Linked DNA regions of Homo sapiens: all the other regions are linked to region 2. The links are contacts of gene promoters, found by promoter capture Hi-C in blood cells and fetal thymus (Javierre and others, 2016). All regions are on one chromosome and are shown on one strand. The core of a region is centred on a gene start or on the middle of the fragment in contact, and the rest is flanking DNA. Distances in the headings are between cores, read along the strand shown.

Region 1 (3,541 bases), core at 590-3,089, 290 kb before region 2:
AGAGTGGCGTGGTGGCTCACGCCTGTAATCCCAACACTTTGGGAGGCCAAGGCGGGTGGATCACGAGGTTAGGAGATCAAGACCACCCTGGCTAACACAGCGAAACCCCGACTCTACTAAAAATACAAAAAATTAGCTGGGCATGGTGGCACGCGCCTATAGTCCCAGCTACTCAGGAGGCTGAGGCAGGAGAATGACATGAACCTGGGAGGCAGAGCTTGCAGTGAGCCGAGATCATGCCACTACACTCCAGCCTGTGCGACAGTGAGACTCTCAAAAAAAAGTTCTTTATATATTCTAGTTACAAGTCCTTTATCTGATATATGCTTCACGAATATTTTCTCCCAGTCTATGGTCTTTTTTTCTTAAACATGTATCTTTTGAAGGGTAGGAGTTTTTAATCCTAATGAAGTCCAATTGATCAGCTTTTTCTTTTATGGATCCTACTTTTGATGTTATGTGTAAGAAATCTTTGCCTAACCCAACGTCATAAAGCTTTTCTCTTGTTTTCTTCTAGAAGCGTTATAGTTTGAGCTAAGTTAAGCACTTAGATTTTATTATCCATTTTGAGTTCATTTTTTTACATGATGTGAAGGGTCCAACATCATTCTTTTGCACATGAATATCCTGTTGTCCCAGCACCACCTGTTGAAAAAACTATCCCTTCCCCCTCACTGGATTTGCCTCCATCTACAGTCAGTTGACCATAAATGTGAAGGTTAGTTTCTGAACTCCCAGTTCTGTTCCATTGATCTATTGATATATACACCAACACCACACTGCCTTAAGCCGTATGGCTTTATAGTTTTGAAACTGGGAAGGCAAGCCTTCTTTGTTCTTTTCCAAAATTGTTTTTGACTACTCTGAGTCTTTTGCATTTCCATATAAATTTTAGAATTGGCTGTTTTCTGAAAAAAAAAAAAAGTCACCTGGAATTTTGATAGGGATTATGTGGAATGTATAGATCAATTTGGGAAAAATTACCATCTTTATAATATTTAGTCTTCTAATTCATGAACATGGAATGTCACTCCATTTATTTTTATCTTTTAATTTTCAGCAATGTTTTATCTTTTTCAGCATACAAGTCTTGCATTCCTTTGTTATTTATTTCTAAACATTTTATTCATTGGATGTTATTGTGAATGGCATTTTCATTTTTGGGTGTTGCTAGCACGTAGACATATAATTGACTTTTGTATGTTGATCTTTTATCTTGTGACCTTGTAGGACAGTCTTTTGGTGAGTTAGGAGCTACCTATAGTGCCAACCAAGAGAACCACAGACTAGTCAAGAGCTGGAGTTATCTACCTGCCTCCTACCTGTTGCAGGGACCTCCCTTTCAGCCCACTCAGCCTCAGCAGTTCAAAGGATACAGCCCTCTTCACTTCAAGGGGGTGCCTAACGAGCAGCCCATTAGAAAGCTTCCCCAAACCAAAGGACCAGTCTACCTGCTGCTGTGGAGCGAGGCACACAACTCCACTCCCTCTTCCTTGAGACAAGGCCACCTCTGCCTACCTCCTTCAATGAGGCCCCAGAACTGGGGACCAGGCAGCCCTCTCTAGCCTGGCCTGACACCTGAGCGCCACGGTCCCACTGCAGCCTGGTACAGCACTGCTTTCTCAGGGGCCACAGAACACCTTTGTCCCAGTAATGTGTTTTTAGGTCAAAGTGGAGAGGTTTGAGGGATAGGGGTTCTGTAAGTTTTGCGTATCTACTAATCCCTGGGACTCTTGGCTGCTCCCGTACAAGGCAGGGAGTGGAAATCAATGGCTTGCCTTCTGGACTTTGGTTATCCTGAGCTCAGAGCTGCAGTGAGTTCCTCTCTGTCAGTGCACAGCTTCATTTGGGGGACCCTTCAGGCACAATCCTCAGAGATGGGACCGTTTCCAATGGTGGTATGTGAGCAATTTCAGGAGACACGTGGGCCATCAACTCACAGTGAGGAAACTACTCTTTTAAAGTATCTTGCAGTCTCTCCAGTTATGACAAAGAGAAAGTCTCTGTTCGTGTTGGTATGTCCTTAGTACCCTCTTTAACCCTTGGTAATCCCCCAGGCCTTCAGGAAATGGCATAATTTCAATCCCTTTTGTTTTTCCTTGTATACTACTTATGGCAAGTAATATCAGCTTCCCATTTACAGTAGTATTATATAAGGCTGCCTTTCAAAATAAAGTTCTCATGGTCCCCAGCCCTGAAAAAACAATAAAAATAGGAAACATTAAAGAAAAAGATAAATTAAGTAAAAGCTTTTGATTTGATGAGGAAAAACAGTCACTGCCGTAGAGTGGCCTTGTACAGACACAGCCAGGGTGCTGGTGACATGGGACGTGTGAGGTCGGGGTATACTGGGCAGTGCCCAGGGCAGCAGGGCCCCTGCAGAGGTGGCTTCCTGGTCCACCCCGAGCTTTCCCGGGATCCAGCCCGCTAGCCCACAGCAGCAATCCCTGTGCTTCCCTCCCCCTGCAGGTGTGGCGGGCTGGGGCTGGTGCTGGCCAGCGCGGGCTTCGGCATGCTGACGGCACCCATCATCGAGCTGCACAACCAGAAAGGCTACTTCCTGCACCACATCATCTTTGCCTGCTGCACGCTCATCTGCATCATCTGCATCCTCCTGCTGCCCGAGAGCAGGGACCAGAACCTGCCTGAGAACATTTCTAACGGGGAGCACTACACGCGCCAGCCGCTGCTGCCGCACAAGAAGGGGGAGCAGCCACTGCTGCTCACCAACGCCGAGCTCAAGGACTACTCGGGCCTCCACGATGCCGCAGCCGCGGGTGACACACTGCCCGAGGGTGCCACGGCCAACGGCATGAAGGCCATGTAGCCCGGCCTGCGGAACCCGGGGCTCCAGGGTCTGGGGCAGCTTGGGCACAGGTTTACAGACCAGGGACCGAACACGCAGCCAGGGGTGGGAAAGCTGCCTCAGCCAAGCTGAGCCTCTCAACTGGTGTGGGGAAATCCTGTCTTTCCAAAAGTCCAAGGAGCGCGGGTCGGAGGAGACAAACTCTTTGGAAATAACCCTTTCAAGACTTTCTTTTCTGCCGTTAAATGTGTGTATTTATTTTGGTCATTTTTACGAGAAGCACTTTATTCCCTCTCCCTCTCACTGATCACAAATGGAATCACCTCCCTGGGCAGCGAGACGCAGTTGCTCTGGGAAGATGCCACAGTGACCAGGGCCATGGCCGGTCCCTCTGGGGAGATGGGACACGGCTCCTGGCAGCACCCAGGAGCCCCCCAGGCTGCCTGCCTGCGTGCAGAGGCAGGAGAGGACCGTGGAGCGTTTCCGGGACTGCATTTTAGACGGAGTGAAATGTACATGAATTTGGCTTTTGCTAGAGTCTGTGTATGGTTTTTTAAGGTCCTTTTTCCCTTTCTGTTTGTAAGGTAAGAGCTTCTGTTCGTGTGCAGGGAAAGCAGCTCACAGACGCCGTTAAAACCAGCTTCATCTTTCCTTCAGGATCATCCTTTTGTACTTGATGCTGGAAGCTCTTGGAGAAAAAGCTTAAACATTTCACCAGAAATCTTAATTGAGCAG
Region 2 (3,329 bases), core at 185-2,684:
TGCGCTGAGCTTGGACTTAAAGTGGAAAGGCTTACATTTGCAGAATTAAAAAAAGCATCGAAACATTCTGTGGCAGGAAGTCCTGCGAGCCTCCTCGCCCCAGCCCGGTTTCCCGCGGGCCCCAGCCTCATCCCCCAAGGCCCCACCCTGAGAGCCCCCAGGTCCCAGCCGCGTCCTCCTGGACCCCTCCCAGGCGTGGCGAGCCGGGTCGCGGGAGCGCTCCGCCACCAGGGGACAGTGCGGCGCCGACCGTGGGCTGCTGGCTCGGCCGAGGGCACCCAGGCGCCCTCCGCTGCAGCGGGCTGGTTGCAGAGGGGCGGGCTCTCGCCAGGCAGCAGGCGCTCCGGGCGCAGCTGGGAGGAAGGAACGCCCCCGGGAGTGGGCGGCGGCCGAGGGACCCTGCAACCGTCCTCCCTGGAGGAGGCCCCCGCAGCTCCCGCAGCCCCCCTCATCCCGGACGGGCCGGGGATTGGGACTGGCCTGGGGTCTCCTACTCTCCTACTCCGCGCAGGAAGTAGCCCCTTGGCAGGACCGGCGGTGCCTGCTGCTTTCAGGAGCCCCGAGCCGCTTTTGTCTGGGTGCAGCTCAGCTCACATCCCCGATGCAAGTCTTTCCCGGCTCGTCTCCCCTTCTTCCCGGAGTCCATGCCTTGCTGTCGGTGACTCATCCCACACTGTGCCCTGCGACTCACCCTGTCGCTTTCTCTGTTCATCCGGGAGCGCGGCGCCATCTCCCTCCAGCCCCGCCTCCCCTACAGTGCTCCGTGCTGAGGTCGCACGTTCTCTCCTCCCTCCAGCTCCCTGGCTCTTGGCCCTTCCCAGGCCACCAGGCGACAGCAGCCTCCGCCTTCATTTCCCTTGGTCATTTCAGGCGCATGCTTGGAGGATTTCAGGATCTGACTCAGCTTCCCCGCCATGCATCCCTCCACCAGCATCCAGTCACACCTCTGCAGCCTTCAGTGTCCTGGAAAGGACTGACCAATCTGACCCATTAGAACCTACCCAGACCAATTTGAAGGCCACTGCCCCTCAACCGTGGCCACCCACTCCTGCCCCACCTGGAGCCCCAAACTGCTCAGTTCCTTCTCTAAAACTCTGCCCTCTTTTGTTTGTTGTGAATAACTGTCTTCCCTGGTTCTTTCCACACCTCTCTGGCCTCTCCTTGTCTTTTTCTGGTTCTTTTTTTCTCTATTCTCCCTTATGCACTGGCCTTGCTGGAGGTCCCTGCTCTCCCTGCAAAACCTCACCACACCCTTGACTTCAGCTATATCCATTTCACCTCACGTTGACATCTGGTGCCTAGACCTCTCTCCCGAGCCTTCCACACCATGCCAAAAATGAAATTCATTTTCTCCTCTAAATTTGCTCACCTTCTTGTTTTCCCAATCTTATTTATTGTCACAGCCATTCCCCTGCTGGTCCAAGTCAGTAGTCTGAGAGTCATGCTAGACTCCTCCTTCCTTATCTACCCATCCACCAATCCCCAAGCCCTGTCTATCCTCCTTTTTTTTTTTTTTTTTTTCCAGTCAGAGTCTTGCTGTGTTGCCCAGGCTAGAGTGCAATGGCACGATCTCGGCTCACTGCAATCTTTGCCTCCCGGGTTCAAGTGATTCTCCTGCCTCAGCCTCCTGAGTAGCTGGGATTACAGGCGCATGTCACCACGCCCAGCTAATTTTTGTATTTTTAGCAGAGATGAGGTTTTGCCATGTTGGCCAGGCTGGTCTTGAACTGCTGACCTCGTGATCCGCCTGCCTCTGCCTCCCAAAGTGCTGGGATTACTGGCATGAGCCACTGTGCCTGGTCATCTATCCTCCTTTTTAAATAGCTCTGCCATGTGTGCCTGTCTCCCCTGACAGCTCACCCTCATCCTATTTGTCCACATTGCTGCAGAGTAGTCTCTTCCATACACCAGGAGTTCCCAACCCCCGGGCCACAGACCTGACTGGTCTGTAGCCTGTTAGGAACCAGGACACACAGCAAGAGGTGAGCCACCAGTGGGTGAGCTAGTGAAGCTTTATCTGTATGTGCAGCTGCTCCCCATTGCTTGCATTACCACCAGAGCTCTGCCTCCTATCAGATCAGGCAGCATTAGATTCTTATAGGAGCACAAACCCTACTGTGAACTGCACACATAAGGGATCTAGGATGTGCGCTCCTTATGAGAATCTAATGCCTGATAATCTGCCGTTGTCTTCATCACCCCCACATGGGGCCAGATAGTTGCAGGAAAACAAGCTCAGGGCTCCCACTGAAAATAAAGTGCACAAGAAGTGTCATGTGCTTGAATCATCCCGAAACCATCCTCTGCTGTCCAAGGAAAAATAGTTTTCCACAAAACCCCTCCCTGGTGCCAAAAAGGTTGGGATGGTTGCCATACATAACTCTGATGATGAGACCACGAAGCTCAGAATCCTCCAGAGGCTCTCCACTGCCTGTAAGATGAAATAAAATTTATGGGTGTGACTTATCCATAAGGGCCCAGTCTAAACTGCCTCATATTTAATTATATAGTAAGCTATTTGTTTCCTCAAACGTATATATTTTGGCCCATTTCCCAGTCTCCTAGGTTGGAATATGCTCTGTGTGTCACCTGGCCAGCTCATGCTCTTTCTCATTCTCAGCTCAAGTGTTAGGGACTCTATGACACCTTTCTTGATTCTCCCAGTCAGACATATTGTTGCTACTTTTTCTTAACACTTATCCTTTTATCCTTGGCACCACTAAAGCACATATCACATCAGATTTCACTTGTTTGCACATCTGTCTGGCATCTTGAGCCCAGGGACCGTGTCGCCTGTCTTCATGTCCCCAGGCCCTAGTGTAGCTCCCAGCCTATAGTGAGTGCAGAATAAAAGTTTGTAGAATGAGGCCAGGCGCGGTGGCTCATGCCGGTAATCCCAGCACTTTGTGAGGCCAAGGTGGGCAGATCACGAGGTCAGGAGTTTGAGACCAGCCTGACCAACATGGTGAAACCTCGTCTCTACTAAAAATACAAAAAATAGCCGGGTGTGGTGGCACGCGCCTGTAATCCCAGCTACTCAGGAGGCTGAGGCAGGAGAATCGCTCAAACCTAGGAGGTGGAAGTTGCAGTAAGCTGAGATCGCGCCACTGCACTCCAGCCTGTGCAACAGAGTGAGACTCTGTCTCAAAAAAAAAAAAAAAAGTTTGTAGAATGAATGAAACAATTAGTTACACCACAGTTAGTGAGTCATCGATACTTCATCAAGGCTGGGTATTTCGTATAATAAAGTTATTAAAGCTGATAAGCAAAGATCAAGTTACCCAAAGAACAGCACTGCCGGTGATCTAAAGGTCTTTGCCCTCAGGTTG
Region 3 (3,396 bases), core at 756-3,255, 370 kb before region 2:
TGAGAATCCAGCCACAGCCTGAGCCAGGACAGCTCTCAAGAGAGGAGGACAGGCTGTGGGATGAACGGTCATGGCCACAGATGGAAGGGACCCAATTCCTTAAAAAAAAAAAAAAAAAGAATGATGTAGGAGTCTTTAAGCTTCTCTAAAGGGCAGGGCTTGGGGGTCCCTGTGTCCCTCTTATTGAAGCACGTTTCCCTCTCTTTTTTTTCAGTAGAAAGACAGTTGAGGGGGTGTGTTCTGTGTGACACTGCTGCAGGCTCCTTTGGGGGAGAAACCCTGATCTAAGTCACAGCTGGTTGGGGTCTTAAGTCCTTAAGCAGTTTAACTTGGGGTCAGGCATAAAATGGGGGGGGTGGGTAGAAATAGAAAATATACAAACAACAGGAATATAAAATGTGGGACACCTTCTGTGGCCTGGACATCCCTGCTGCCTCGAGCTCCCCGCAGCTGCTGATGTTCGCTAGCGCCTCTCGTCACCCCAGTACCACGCTCTGACCTTCTGTTCCTGCTGCACCTGTTCCCCACCCCAGCATCTTTGCCCGAGGGAAGGCTTCGTCCAATCCCGTTCCCGCCCTGGATGACCACGCCAGCTGTGGGCCTGCCTGGCCGAACGCAGGTCTCCATCAGAGGGGCCCGTCTGCATGGGGGTGCCTGCACACCTGTCGTGTCGACATCACTGAGGACCCCTTGGGGGCTCAGGCCAGCTTGAGGGCCTCTTTGTCTCCTAAATAACTGGGACAGTATCTGGGGCTTAGATGAGCAGTCAGCATAGCAATAAGTGACCGGAAATACAGAGATGTGTGGACTAAGACTGTTGAGGTTGACTCGGATGTGTGCAAAGGCCCCAAAGTGACCTCCCTCCACGGTTGAGCCGTTGCCTGAAACCCGACTATGAGAATGCAGTTCTGTATTTTAAGGCAGATGAGACAAATGCCCCCAAGAATGGCAATGCAGTGAGCTCTGTGACTCACCTCACCTCCTGGTGATTGAGCCTTTCTGATCCTCCTGAGTTTAAGGATCCTTGGGTGGATGGGTGGGCGGGGCACAGCTGAGGTCAGAGCTCTCAAAGGCCAATACTACGGACTTGCCTTTTTTGTTGTTGTTTTATTTGGAGGGGGGTGTTTGTTTTATCATGGTAAAATAAACATAGCATAAAAATTACCATTTTAACTACTTTTAATTGTACCATTCAGTGGCATTAAGTAATTCACATTTTTACACAGCCATCACCACCCTTCATCTCTAGAGGTCTTTTCATCTTCCCAAACAAACTCTGTCCCCAATAAACACTCCCCATTCCCATCCCTTAGTCCCGAGCAGCCACCCTTCTACTTTCTGTTTCTATGAATTTGCCTACCTAAGAACCTATTTAAGTGGATCATGCAATATTTGTCCTTTTGTGACTGGCTTACTTCACTTAGCATAATGTCTTCAGGATTCCCTCAGAACAAGGACCTCTAAGGACAAAAATAAGTGAAAATAAGAAAAAAAGAAAAAATGCTTCCTTTATACTATAGCATATGTTGGATATGGCCTCCCTTTTTAAGGCTGAGTTATATTTCATCCTCTGGATGGATCACATTTTCTTATCCATTCATCTGTTGATGGACACCTGCGTTGCTCCCACCTTTTGGCTGTTGTGAATATGCTGCCGTGAACATAGGTGTGCAAATATCATTTCAGGTCCTTGCTTTCACTTTTGGGGGGTTATACCCAAAAGTGGCATTGCTGAGTCAGATGGTAATCCTCTGTTTAATTCTATGAAGAACAGGGATATTGTTTTCTCCAGTTGGCTGCACCGTTGTACATTCCCACCAGGAATGTACTGGTGCACCAGGGTTCCAGTTTCCCCACATTCTTGTCAGCACTTGTTATTTCCTGTTTGTTTGACAGCAGCTACCATCCTGATGGATGTGAAGGGCTACCACATTGTCGCTGTGATGTACATTTCCCCGATGACAGTGACGTTGAGCATCTTTCCATGTGCTTCTTGGCCATCTGTATGTCCTCTTCAGTTTTTGTTTTGTTTTAAACTTGCACTCAGATGGATAGTTATATGTGTGACCTAAGGAGAACCACTCAGTGATGAAGAATAAACGTGGCAACACCAGCTAGCATAGCTTAGCAGCATCTGTTATCTGCCTGAGGGCGGTGAATTCCCAGTGAGATGCTCATTCTAGTACTGTCCTAGAATGAAATGAGTCTCAGCTGGCATGTTCCTCGCTCTCCTTCTCGGTGCCCATCTTTTTCTTAGTTGAAATGATCTGTGATTCTGGATGCAGCCCGTGTTGTTCTGGGACGTCTCTGTATTGCACTAAATTAATAAAGGAGCTTTCATTTTTGCAGTTATGTATTTTGAATTCCCTATTCTCTCTTCATCCTGAATGACTGAGACTTGATTAGACATCGGCACAGCGCACCTGACATGGCGCTGACATGGAAATGCAATGGGTGGCAGCTCGGGGTGCAGACCCCACCCAGGATGCTGTGCCCGAGGGGAGCCAGGGCTTCCCTTTGAAATGGCAAAGGTTCCCACCATCCCTCCAGCCCCCGATGGCAGATCCCTTCTCACTTCTTCCTCACTGGAGCTGTGACTCCTTCCGGTGTTTTCCTTGGGTTGATGAAACAGAAACTCTCCTGGGGCCTTTTTTATTTTATTTTTTAATTTTATTTGTGGTAAGAACATCTAACATGAGACCCACCCTCTTAACAGGTTTTTTCAGTGTACAGCACAGTATCGTGAACTATAGACACAATGTGTGCAGCAGAGTTCCAGAGCTTATTCATCTCGCCTGCCTGAAAGCTGATGCTAGTTGACGAGCAACTCCCCATGTCTCCCTCCCTCTACCCCCGGCAACCATCAGCCCACTCTTTGATTTTCTGAATTTGCCTATTTTTACATGCCTCATGTAAGTGGAATCATGTAGTATTTGTCCTTCTGTGACTGGCTTATTTCACTTAACATAATTCCTCCAAGTTCATCCACGTGTCGTACGTGTCAGAATTTCATTCGTTCTTAAGCGGAATCATATTCTATTGTATTTTTCACTGTGTTTCGTGTGTCCCTTCACCTATCAGTGGACCTCTGCGTTGTTTCCATATCTTGGCTGTTGTGGATAACACTGCAGTGAACGTGGGAGCGCTCACGTCAAGTGCTTTGAGATCCTAATTTCAATTCTTTTGGATAAGTACCTGGAAGTAGAATCACTGGATCATATGGCAGTTCTAGTTTTAGTTTTTTGAGGAACTGCCATACTGTTTTCCATAATGGCTGCACCATTTTTGCATCCCTACCAACAGTGTTTAAAGGTTCCAATTTCTCTCCATCCTGGGGACTTTGATACTGAGAACCTAACCTGTCTAGCCTCTTCTGCACTGGCCGCCTTTGCAAGA

What was found. The method cuts DNA at HindIII sites, captures the fragments that hold promoters and counts their contacts. A CHiCAGO score of 5 or more calls a contact.
Region 1: a fragment that was not itself captured here is called in contact with the fragment with the promoter of LINC01011 in region 2 in 1 of 17 cell types (activated CD4 T cells); the score reaches 5.1 in activated CD4 T cells.
Region 3: a fragment that was not itself captured here is called in contact with the fragment with the promoter of LINC01011 in region 2 in 2 of 17 cell types (non-activated CD4 T cells and naive CD4 T cells); the score reaches 5.5 in non-activated CD4 T cells.

The regions. Positions count from the first base shown.
Region 1 is chr6:3,272,341-3,275,881 of GRCh38, reverse strand. SLC22A23 (solute carrier family 22 member 23) reads left to right here. Exons shown (of 10, transcript NM_015482.2): 10 at 2,470-3,541. The coding sequence ends at 2,827. Among named protein-coding and RNA genes, the nearest start is that of PSMG4, 15 kb to the right of the region's middle. The HindIII fragment of the contact is 825 bases long and covers 1,427-2,251 here.
Region 2 is chr6:2,986,072-2,989,400 of GRCh38, reverse strand. It overlaps LINC01011 (long intergenic non-protein coding RNA 1011), which reads right to left and starts at 1,434. Exons shown (of 3, transcript NR_026856.1): 1 at 1,370-1,434. NQO2-AS1 (NQO2 antisense RNA 1) reads left to right here. Exons shown (of 2, transcript NR_186367.1): 2 at 1-65. RefSeq lists a silencer at 70-489 and enhancers at 1-682, 683-1,492. The HindIII fragment of the contact is 2,996 bases long and covers 1-2,013 here.
Region 3 is chr6:3,358,019-3,361,414 of GRCh38, reverse strand. The region is part of intron 3 of SLC22A23 (solute carrier family 22 member 23); the gene reads left to right. Among named protein-coding and RNA genes, the nearest start is that of SLC22A23, 97 kb to the left of the region's middle. The HindIII fragment of the contact is 3,725 bases long and covers 143-3,396 here.